Regions from separate parts of the Homo sapiens genome. Here regions 2 and 3 are each linked to region 1. Evidence: promoter capture Hi-C in 16 types of primary human blood cells and fetal thymus (Javierre and others, 2016). All regions are on one chromosome and are shown on one strand. Each heading gives the region's core, a stretch centred on a gene start or on the middle of the fragment in contact. The rest is flanking DNA. Distances are from core to core; before and after follow the strand shown. Region 1 holds the start of ALOX15 (arachidonate 15-lipoxygenase). Region 2 overlaps ANKFY1 (ankyrin repeat and FYVE domain containing 1). Region 3 overlaps ANKFY1 (ankyrin repeat and FYVE domain containing 1).

Evidence for each region. Contacts are between HindIII fragments. The CHiCAGO score rates a contact against its expected background, and 5 or more counts as called.
Region 2: a fragment that was not itself captured here is called in contact with the fragment with the promoter of ALOX15 in region 1 in 1 of 17 cell types (naive CD4 T cells); the score reaches 5.1 in naive CD4 T cells.
Region 3: a contact is called between a fragment that was not itself captured here and the fragment with the promoter of ALOX15 in region 1, in 1 of 17 cell types (naive B cells). The highest score is 5.5, in naive B cells.

The regions. Positions count from the first base shown.
Region 1 is chr17:4,639,659-4,643,502 of GRCh38, forward strand. It overlaps ALOX15 (arachidonate 15-lipoxygenase), which reads right to left and starts at 2,020. Exons shown (of 14, transcript NM_001140.5): 1 at 1,859-2,020. The coding sequence starts at 1,993. The HindIII fragment of the contact is 20,783 bases long and covers 1-3,844 here.
Region 2 is chr17:4,217,334-4,220,747 of GRCh38, forward strand. The region is part of intron 3 of ANKFY1 (ankyrin repeat and FYVE domain containing 1); the gene reads right to left. Among named protein-coding and RNA genes, the nearest start is that of ANKFY1, 45 kb to the right of the region's middle. The HindIII fragment of the contact is 3,847 bases long and covers 1-3,306 here.
Region 3 is chr17:4,194,846-4,198,771 of GRCh38, forward strand. It overlaps ANKFY1 (ankyrin repeat and FYVE domain containing 1), which reads right to left. Exons shown (of 25, transcript NM_001330063.2): 8 at 2,528-2,732; 9 at 558-626; 10 at 133-332. Among named protein-coding and RNA genes, the nearest start is that of CYB5D2, 54 kb to the left of the region's middle. The HindIII fragment of the contact is 8,607 bases long and covers 1-3,926 here.

The DNA.
Region 1 (3,844 bases), core at 770-3,269:
CGGTGGGGCCTGGCGGGAGGGGCACCCGGCTGAGCCCTGCTCCCTCCAGCGCCCACGCCCTTCCTCGGAGCCTCTGAGAGGAGGAGACGTATCGGGGTGCGGGGACTGAGCCAGAGAGAGAGGGACCGCGCCGAGCAGGTGGCCCCAGGACTCGGTTCTGAGGGGACGGGGACGGCAGGTGGGAAGGTGCGCTCCTGCCTTCACTTTCTCCTCCCTGTGGTCACTGACTGTGCCAAGCGCTGGGCTGAGCGCTGCCGCGCCCTGGACGAGCGCGCTGTGGAGCCCGGACGCGCTGGTGGCAATTCCCGCTGTGCGACCCCCCACCCCACCCCGCCCGAGGCTGAGGACCTGCAGGGGCCCCACCGGCCTGGGGACAACCTTCCCGGAGACCTGGAGGCGGAGAGGGCTCAGCCAGGGAGAGTGACAGAAAGGGAAGGCAGGGGAAAGGCGCGCAGAAAGAGAGCGGCGGGGAAGGGAGGGCGAGCAGCATCTTGGAGCTGGAGCTCAGAGCCCAGGTGTGGGGGGTCAGCAGGTCCGGAGGCTCTCGAAGGTGGCGCCAGGGGCTTTGGATTTGGTCCCGAGAACAAGCGGGAGCCGTTCGAATGTGTTAAGCAGGGGGAGTGAATTAGGGAGAAATCATTCCGGCTTCAGAAGGGCTTGGAAGGTCTGCAGCAGAGGTGGCGAGGCCGCTGGAGGTTTGAAATGGCTTTTAAAATAGAGAAACCGGGAGGACCGACGACCGCTCCGGCGACCGCAGTTTCCAGGCACCAGAGCTGTGTGGAATGAGGGGCGCTCAGGAGCATCCCCTTAATTCCAAGGAGATCGAGTAGCGGGAACATTTATTGAGCCTTTACTGTGTGTCACCAACTGCCCACCATAGGGAGGAAAAAAGGGAGGAGGGAGCGCGCCTTTCCACCTTCCGTGCCCCGTCCCCTCACCATGGAGTCGCGGGGCCACCTGCTCCGTGCGCATTTTCTCTCTTCCTGGCTCCCTTTGCCCCGCTTTCTCGGAAGCTCGGAGCAAGGGCGTGGAGTGCGGGGAGCAGGGCTCCGCAGGTTCAAGAGGACGCGGGCGGTCGGGGGCGGGACGGATATTGGGCAGGGACGCGGGAGATGCTCAGGGTCTAGAACTGACTGCGCCGGATTCTTGTTTAGAGGGAGGTGAAGAGAGGAAGGAGGCGCGGGTGACACCGGGGGAGGCAGGAGGAGAGGGCTGGGAGGTGGGGAGAGGGGAGGACCTCATCCGGGCATGTTGCTTTGACGTTCCCTGAGACAGACATCCGGATTTGGGGATCTGGGAGAGAGCTAGAGCAGTGATGGGAATTTGGGCTTTCGCGGAAGAAAAAAAGTTAACAGGACCGGGTAGAACACCCGGTAGATGTGACATGAGATATGACGGGAGGTGGGTCGGGAAATCGAGAGCGTTCTCCTGTCTTGACTCCCCATCCCTTCCCTCTCACCACCCACTCCACCCCAGGTGATAAAGCCTGAAAGGTAGAGATCCAACAGCGCTAGCGGTTGAAACGGTTTTTAAAATAGAGAAAGCGAGAGGACCGACGGCGGCTCCAGTGACTGCTGAGTTTCCAGACAAGGGAGCTTTGTGCAATGAGGGGCGCACAGGAGCATGCCCTCAATTCCAAGGAGATCGGGTAGCGGCAACATTTATTGAGCGCTTACTGTGTGCCACCGACTGCCCTAAAGCCCCCCACCCCCGTGGCCTCCGCGCGCTTTGAGCCCAATGCGCGGGCCCTTGGCAAAGAGAATCGGCCAGAGGCCAACGGGGGCGCATGTCCTCCCCGGTATTTGACTGACTCGGAGCCAGGGGCGCAGCCCACCCCGCCCGGCTCTGGGGAGCTCACCTTGCCCCGTGCGGGCCACAGTCGCTTCCCGAGCGCCGCCTCCCCGTGCTGGCCGACCAGCCACAGCTGCACCTGGTTGTTGGAACCGGCATAGAGCGAGGCCCCAGTGGACACGCGGATGCGGTAGAGACCCATCTTGCTCAAAGATGTTTCGCTCCTTCTGGTGGAGAAGGGTGGACGAGCTAAATAACCCAGCCTGAGACCCCGCCCTCTCGGAGGTCGCTTGGGGTCGGAATGTGGGTGGCAGGTCTCCAATCAACTCCGCCTACCGCTGGGGCCCCCAGCTCCAAGGAGCAGAGCTTCAAGGGGCAGAATTCAGCCCCAGTCCAAAAGGCGGTGTCCTGGCGAGAGCAGGGAGTGGAAACCACTATCTTGACGGGAGGGAGAAAAAGAAAAGGATTTGGACCGAAAACACGCAGGAAGAGGGAATCAACGCCTGGTACAGCAGGCAGGCGAGGTGGGGGTAGGAGTTATGCACGTGTGTACCACGGACTTTGGGCCAAGCCTGGGTGGCTGGGAAGCCAACCTCCATCTAAACGCACGCGTGCACACACACACACACGCAAGGACACGCGCGCGCACACACAAGCCTCACAAGTTGGATTGCAGGAGAGGGTGAAGTGGGCGAGGAGACCCAGTTTGCAGTGGCATTTGAGGAAGGTACATTCAGGCCACGGAATTCATTCGACCAGCTTTGCACACTTGCCTTCTCTGTGCCAGCCACTGGGACTCATTCCTTTTGAGCATAAAAGCCGCTGCCTCCCTGTTGCCTGCAGAATAAAAGTCCAAATGTTTCTGGCATTCAATGCCCTTGCTAACCTGACCTGCTCTCCTCACCTCTCATCCCACTGCACCCTGGCATCTCCTGTGCTGGAGCCATGTGTTCCCCGGAACCCCCCCTCCCCCCGCCGCCCCTGCTGTTCTCTCAAAGAACTCACTTCTGGGTTAGTCTGGTCATGCTTCTAAACCCTAATTCGTCTCCAGTTTCTTTTTGGGCTGGAGCCATGTGTTCCCCAGAACCCCACCTGCTGTTCTCTCAAAAGAACTTGCTCCTGGATTAGTCTATTCATCTATTCATGCTTCTAAACCCTAGTTCACCTCCGGTTTCTCAGGAAAGTCTTACCCGGTACTTTCACCCCCCACCACCCCACCAGAGTGAATTAGCTTTCCTTTTTTTTTTTTTTTTGAGATATAGAGTCTCACTCTGTCACCCTGGAATGCAGGGTGGAGTGCAATGGCACGATCTCGGCTCACGGCAACCTCTGCCTCCCGGGCTCAAGCAATTCTCTGCCTCAGCCTTCCGAGTAGCTGGGATTACAGGCGCCTGCCACCATGCCTGGATAATTTTTGTATTTTTAGTAGAGACGGGGTTTCTCCATGTTGGCCACGCTGGTCTTGAACTCCTGACCTTGTGATCCACCCACCTCAGTCTCCCAAAGTGCTGGAATTACAGGTGTGAGCCACGGCGCCCGGCCCAGCTTTCCTTTCTAACACTTTTCTCCTTGCGCACACTTCTACTGTTGCACAGTTAATACTGCAGTGTGAGCATTTGTATGTGTGTATCCCCCACTAATGTGAGCCCGTCCTAGGCAGGGACTACACACCCAGCAGGACTCTCACTTTTGTTTCCCCTGGAGACGGCACAGTGTCAGGGTTTGTGGGTGTCAATAAGTGTTTGCTGAAACACACTGAGCTGAAAAATTCATTATAAATGAATGCTTCCCTTGGGGGAGACAAAGGGAAACAAATTATCAGGCAATGTAAACAAAAGGGGAATACTAACATAAACTTCATGGCATGGATTACAATCAGCCTGGTAACACAAATGAAGTCCACGAAAATATGTCTGTGATGCATATTTTCTGGTTTGCTTGTTTTTTGTTTTTGGTGTTTTTTTTTTTAATGAGATGGAGTCTTGCTCTGTTGCCCGGGCTAGAGTACAGTGGTGTGATCTCGGCTCACTGCAACCTCCACCTGCCGGGTTCA
Region 2 (3,414 bases), core at 133-2,632, 420 kb before region 1:
GTCAGGAGTTCGAGACCAGCCTGACCAACATGCTGAAACCCCATGTCTACTAAAAATACAAAAAAAATTAGCCGGGCCTGGTGGCGTGCACCTGTAATCCCAGCTACTCGGGCTGAGGCAGGAGAATCGCTTGAACCCGGGAGACGGAGGTTGCAGTGAGCAGAGATTGAGCCACTGCACTCCAGCCTGGGTGACAGAGGGAGACTCCGTCTCAAAAAAAAGGTGACTCAGCAGTCTGGGCAACATCTGACTAAACTTTCGCAGTGGGCAGTGAGTGAGGAAATAAACCTACTAAAGATATGTCGAATAAATTGGGGAAAATATTTGAAACATATGACAAAGAATTAACATTATTTTTTTTTTCTTTTTGAGACAGGGTCTCACTACGTCACCCAGGCTGGAATGCAGTGGCACAATCATGCCTCACTGAAGCCTCGAACTCCCTGGGCTCAAGTGGTCCTTACACCTCAGCCTCCCGAGTAGCTGGGACCGCAGGTGCATGCTAGCATACCAGGTTAATTTTTGTATTTTTTGCAGAGACGGTTTCACCATGTTGCCCAGGCTGGTCTCGAAATCCTGGGCTCAAAGAATCCAACTGCCTCGGCCTCCTAAAGCATTAGGATTACAGGCGTGAGCCGCTTCACCCAGCCTGAGTTAACATTCTTTATGATAAAAAGACCTTACAAATAAAAATAAAAAGACGGATACCCAATGGAAAAATGGGCAATGGATACAAATAGGTAATTCACAAAGATAAATAATGGCTAGTAAACCTTACTGATAACCAAATACAAACTGAAATCAGAGTACATTTTTTTATCTCTCAGACTAGCAAAGATTTTTTAAAGAACATAACCTTTCACACAGCAACTACATATGTAGACATTATCCAAAGAAAATAACTGGACAGATAAAGAAAAATGTACTAAGATGCTCAGCACAATATTATTAATGAAGAACTAGAACAAAAATCGTAAGAGTCCAACAATGGAGAACTAATTAAATAAATTACAATATACATACACACTGAACAAATGCAATGAAAACTAGATAGATATATATTCAACATAAGATATTTACTACATAGGCTTTTTGAAAAGTAGGCTAAAAATACTTGTATAAGATCTCATTGGCTGGGTACAGTGGCTCACGCCTGTAATCTCAATGCTTTGGGAGGCCAAGGTGGGCGGATGGCTTGAGCCCAGGAATTCAAGACCAGTGTGAGCAACATGGTGAAACCCTCTGTCTTTACAAAAATTCAAAAATTACACCAAAATCTCAGAAATCACCACTAAAGAACTTAGCCATGTAACCAAACACTGCCTGTTCCCCAAAAACTACAGAAGAAAAAAATTAAACAAAATAAAACCAAAAAATATAAAAATTAGCTGGGCACATGCCATTAGTGGCGGCATGTGTCTGTAGTCCCAGCTACTCAAGGGGCCAATGTGGGAAGAGAAATTGAGCCGGGAGGTTGAGGCAGTACTGAGCCGTGACTGCACCACTGCACTCCAGCATGGGTGGCAGAGCAAGACCCTGTCTCAAAAAGAAAAAGAAAAAAAAATAGGTCTTGCTTTTTGTTAAGATACACCTGTGTGTGTATGCATGCATACATATATATATAATACCTACACACACTACACACTACACACATAGAGAGGCAGACACACATTTTTCTGTGTCTGTCTCTCAAGAGATTGGAAGGATATATACTAAAATATCAACCCAGGTGGAATTTATAACTAATTTTTCTTTTAGCTTAATTTTACTTTTAGCTTTATTTTTATTTAAGGAACATGCATTATTTGTGCAATCTTTTTAAGTTAAAATAAAGACTGTACAGCAACTTGGGGAAATGCTTGGGATGAGAATCATAGTATAAAATATCTAAACTATTATTTCAACCAGAGTTAACTCTTGATTAGTCAGAATAAGAAGAGTGATGGTCAGAGGAATACTTAAAATCATGGTCAACGCAAGTAATTCTCACGGTGTTGTCCTGGGCCAGGAGATTCAGCCTCATCTGATAACTGATTGGAAATCTGATTCTCTGTCCTACCCCAGACCTGCTGAATGAGAAACCAGAGATGGGGCCCAGCACATGTCCTAACAAGTCCTCTATGTGATTCTGATGCTCACTAAGGTTTCAGAAACCGTACTTGATTCTTGATTACCTAGGAAAGGTGCAACAAGGACCAGGAACACCTTATTAACTTCATAATTAGGAATTGGCTCATTAGCTCTGATTACTCTCCTTTCCAACTAGAGTGGGAAGGAGCAGCTTGAAGGGGGCAATGTCAAGTGAGTGGACTTGAAGACCCCGACTTACCTGCAACCAGGTTAATTCACCATCTCCTAAAACAACCAGATATTAAAAGTAAAAAAAAAAGAAAAAGAAAAAGAAAAAGTGAAATACACTAAAATGATAATATTGTAGTTACTATGTTAAAGTTTTTCTTTTTTCTCTCACTGAATAATATAGTAATAGCACCTTTTCTTTTTTTTGAGACAGAGTTTTGCTCTTGTCACCCAGGCTGGAGTGCAGTGGCGCGATCTGAGCTCACTGCAACCTCTGCCTCCCGGGTTCAAGAGATTCTCCTGCCTCAGACTCCCAACGTAGCTGGGATTACATGTGCCTGCTGCCATGCCCAGCTAATTTTTTTGTATTTTTAGTTGAGATGGGGTTTCACCATGTTAGCCAGACTGGTCTTGAACTCCTAACCTCAGGTGATCCACCTGCTTCGGCCTCCCAAAGTGCTGGGATTACAGGCGTGAGCCACCCTGCCCGGCCAGTAGTAGCACTTTTAAAATGTTTTAAAAGAGAAAACATTTTAACACCAGACAGAAAACTAATTAGATTTATTTAAACAACCTAGGTGCTTCAGCTAAGCTGTCTAAGATCACCATAGTAGATCTTGGAAGTAGGCCAAATTTCTAAGCAGGCTTTGTAAATTGGGTTCAATACCTCAGTAGTCATCGTAATGAACAACAAAAAAAATGTAGGCCATGTGATTTGTCCACAGCAACCAAAAATCCCAAAACACATCCTACTAGACTCACATGGCCTGATCTTGAAGACAGCTCGTTCCTATCTGCTGAGAGAATCCCCAGCACCAACACCCTCAAACACCTTCCCTACAGTAGCAGTTTCTTAAATACTATTTGCAAACTTGCCCGGTTAATCTTGACCTGTACAAGTAATAAACAAAAACCTAGATTATCAAAAAACTTTTTTAAACTACTTTCAGTAGGGATTTCCTGGGAGGGCTTGATATTTCAAACAAAATGAGGTTCAAGTGATTTACAAGCTTTCCCACTCCTGCCGTGACTCTTCCCCTCATCTACAAAATACACTGAGAATAAATTCACTTTGTGACTCAGACGAAGCAGCCAGTGGTATAAGGGTAGGCAGAG
Region 3 (3,926 bases), core at 1,343-3,842, 440 kb before region 1:
TAAAATTAAGTACAAAATAATTATCCTCATAGTATGCCGTTCAGTTTCTAAATTTGGGGTGAAGGCATTTACATGCCATTTCCTGGCGCCTGCAGACCCCAGCGTCGCCCCTTCGGGAGGCACGTGCTTTACCTGTCGCCGTGTCAGGTGCGTCTGTGTGGCTGCCGCGCTGGATGAGTCTGGCTGCAAAGCTGTTCTCATCAAATGAAGTCCCATTTACCACGGGGACATCTTCGAAGGGGTTCACAGACTGGTCAGAAGACACTGTGATATGCTGCACTGCCAGCCACAGAGCCGTGCTGCCCTCGTGGTCTTTGAGTTCTAAATCTAGTCTGAAAAGCAGAAGCAGTGTCAACAGCACATACAATCTTTTTGAGACACTCTATACTGACAACAACCTGGTTCTTTCTCTTTACCCTTTTTCAATGACACATTTTTTTTTAGCTCACTTTAACTTCTTAATATATGCAACACTAAAGATGTTTAAAAAGAATGATTTTTCACTCACAATCCCCCCTCACAACCGCCTTCTCACTTGTGCGTGTCTCCCTACGTACTGTTTGCACTGCAGCAGCTGACTGAACACATATTCATTCCCGGCCATGATGGACACATGTAAAGGAGTCCTGCGGGATCCAAAAGAAGAGGGGTCAGTTCAGGACAGGCCTGTTCAGGATGACTCACGGCAAGACGCAACCAGAATCCCAGGCAGAATCACCACCCGCAAGAAATCCCACATTTCTACAAGGCTTCTAAAACCATGACCCAGTATCAAAACCTGAAAACGGATCTGCTTATATGTGACCATTATTCAGCGGCCAAAATGGACAAGAATCAGCTCAAGGAAGTGATCTCAAATACTCCCCAACTCAATCCCAACCCCTTCCTGAAGGCACAGACAGGATTTTCTTGAGAACAGCAGTTTCTGCCACAGGTGTGCAGATTTTCCCTCATCTCTTCTCCATCAATTCTAAAAGGAAACTCTCCCCCATAATCTTCTATTCTTCTCAAACACACTCAGAGCAGCAACAGGAAAGAACTGATGAAAGCGGCATTTAACCCCTTTCACTGCTTTCATTTAGCACTCGGGAGCCCTGCAGGAGACTGGCACTGCAGAGCCACCACTAACACACACACACACACACCCCCGAGTCAGGGCCCAAGGCTGCACCTACCCACCCACCCCCCCCACCACCCCCCACCCACACAGTGAGTCAGGGCCCAAGGCTGCACCTACCCCGCCCCCCACCTCCCCCCAAAAACACACACTTTGAGTCAGAGCCCAAGGCTGCATCTACTACACACACACACACACACACACACACACACACACACACACACACACACTGCGAGTTTATTGCCGTTGGAGGAAAAAAATGAAAGAATCAACAGCAGGGAAAGGGATGCAATTATTTTAGGAAATAAGGTAATTATCACATGATACTGAGATTTCATGAAGCTACATCTTATTTACGTACTTATCTATCACATAAATACATTCTCCTGTCTGACAACCAAACTTTACAAAAAATCTTTTTTTTGAGAGGTTTTTCAAAGGTATAAAATACTGAGAATGTTCTAATGACAAGCGGGTCCCAACTGTGGTCAGTGATTCAGGTGACTTAACTATCCTTCACAGCCCCTCACACCACTGTCCCAAGACAAGTAGCCTTTTCTCAGATCCTACCACAAGGAATCCTCAACTATTTCTGGAAAGGGGCAAAATGAACACAATAAATATTGTTAAATATGCAAAGGGCCGTGCTATGGACAAAGGTAGCAAGCTGTGCAGATAAAGTGGGAGTGTTTACGAGAAGGTAAAATTGGGTTTAATATAGAGAATTTTCTAACAATTAGAATTTTCTAACAATTAGACCTCAATAGTTCTTCAAACTATCCAAGCAACTCTAAGAAATGCTACAAGGTTTCCTTGGAGGCACTGGACTAGATGACCACTCTGGTTCCTTCAAACATGAGATACAAATTGCTTAAAAGCTCGAAAACTGGCTCACGCCCGTAATCCCAGCACTTTGGGAGACCGAGGTGGGCAGATTGCTTGAGCTCAGGAGTTCGAGGCCAGCCTGGACAACATGGCAAAACCCTGTCTCCACCAAAATACAAAAATCAGCCAAGTGGGGTGGCGTGTGCCTGTAGTCTCACCTACTCAGGAGGCTGAGGTGAGAGGATCACCTGTGCTCAGGAGGTAGAGGCTGCAGTGAGCCAAGATCATACCACTGCGCTCCAGCCTGGGTGACAGAGTGAGATGCTGACACAATTAAAAACAAACAAACAACACACAAAAAAAACCTCGAAGACTTCAGTTACCCAGGATAGAAATGTTTTCCCCAAATGCCTCTGGTTTTAGTAGTGACACTACTACTACACATCGATGTCTGTGACTTTAATGAAAATAAGACTGAATAATGCCAAACTAAAGAACATGAACTCCCCGTATGCCAATTACATGCTACTGTAAGATATCTTCTGAGAACAGTGCTAAGGGCACAGTGTCTGCTCCCCAGCTTACCTCCCCTTGCTGTCCTGCATGTTGGGGTTGGCACCAGCCTGCAGAAGGGCCTCTGCAATCTGCGCCATCTCAGACATCACATCTGCTGAGTGTTTCTTTGAACTGTACAAGGCCACAAGGTGCAGTGGTGTCTCCTGGGCACCCAGTGTAGCAGCGTTGACAAAGGCCCCATTCTTAATGAGGAAAGTGGCAGCAAAGAGATCTCCTTGAAAAGAAATAATAGAAGAAACAGTGTCAGGGCAAAGTATTCTGGCCAGTGCTTCTTCAAGAGGGAGCAGAAAATGACTGCAGACAAAGGAGAGCGATAACTAGATGTGTCTGAAGGAACCTCTTGGGGCATCTGTAAGTGGAAACTCATTGAGATCATGGAGTTACAGACGAATTCAAAAGGCTCTGCTCAATTTTTGGTTACCTGTTACCACTTGTCCTGCCTCCTCACCTCAGTATCCTTTCACTGTTTAAGAATACTAGGCTGGGCCAGGCGCAGTGGCTCATGCCTGTCGTCCCAACACTTTGGGAGGCCGAGGTGGGCGGATCACCTGGGGTCGGGAGTTGGAGACCAGCCTGACCAACAGGGAAAAACCCCGTCTCTACTACAAATACAAAACTAGCCGGGCGTGGTGGTGCACGCCTGTAATCCCAGCTACTTGGGAGGCTGAGGCACGAGATTCGCTTGAACCCAGGGGGTGGAGGTTGCGGTGAGCTGAGACCACATCATTGCACTCCAGCCTGGGGATTAAGAGCAAAACTCCGTCTTAAAAAAAAAAAAAAGAACACTAGGCTTCTACTCTTCAAAGGCCTCCTTCGGTCATCTCTCAGAAGGGTTTCCAGGATCCCTCCCTACACAATTTCTCTCTCTCTTTCTCTTTCTTTCTTATTTCCTGACCACAGCTTGTACCTAACTAAGCAACACCTACCCCCATTCTGCTGTACTTGCATTCACGTTCCTACTCAGAGTAATCCCATGTCTGTTTTATTATTATAAAATTTATTTTCTTTTTAGATTTTTTTTTTTTTCAGACAGAGCCTTGCTCTGTCACCCAGGCTGGAGTGCCGTGGTGCAATCTCAGCTCACTGCAACTTCCGCCTCCGAAATTCAAGCAATTCTCATGTCTCAGCCTCCCAAGCAGCTGGGACTATAGGCATGTGCCACCACACCTGGCTAATTTTTTGTATTTTAGTAGGGACGGGGTTTCACCATGATGTACAGGCTGGTCTCAAACTCCTGAGCTCAGGAAAACCACCTGCCTCGGCCTCCCAAAATGCTGGGATTACAGATGTGAGCCACCGTGCCCGGCCTCTTTTTAGTTTTGTAATCTCATTATATACACATAACTGACTTAATAAGAAGTTTACAATGAAATATTTGAACAGAGTATCTGTACACATTACTATTTAC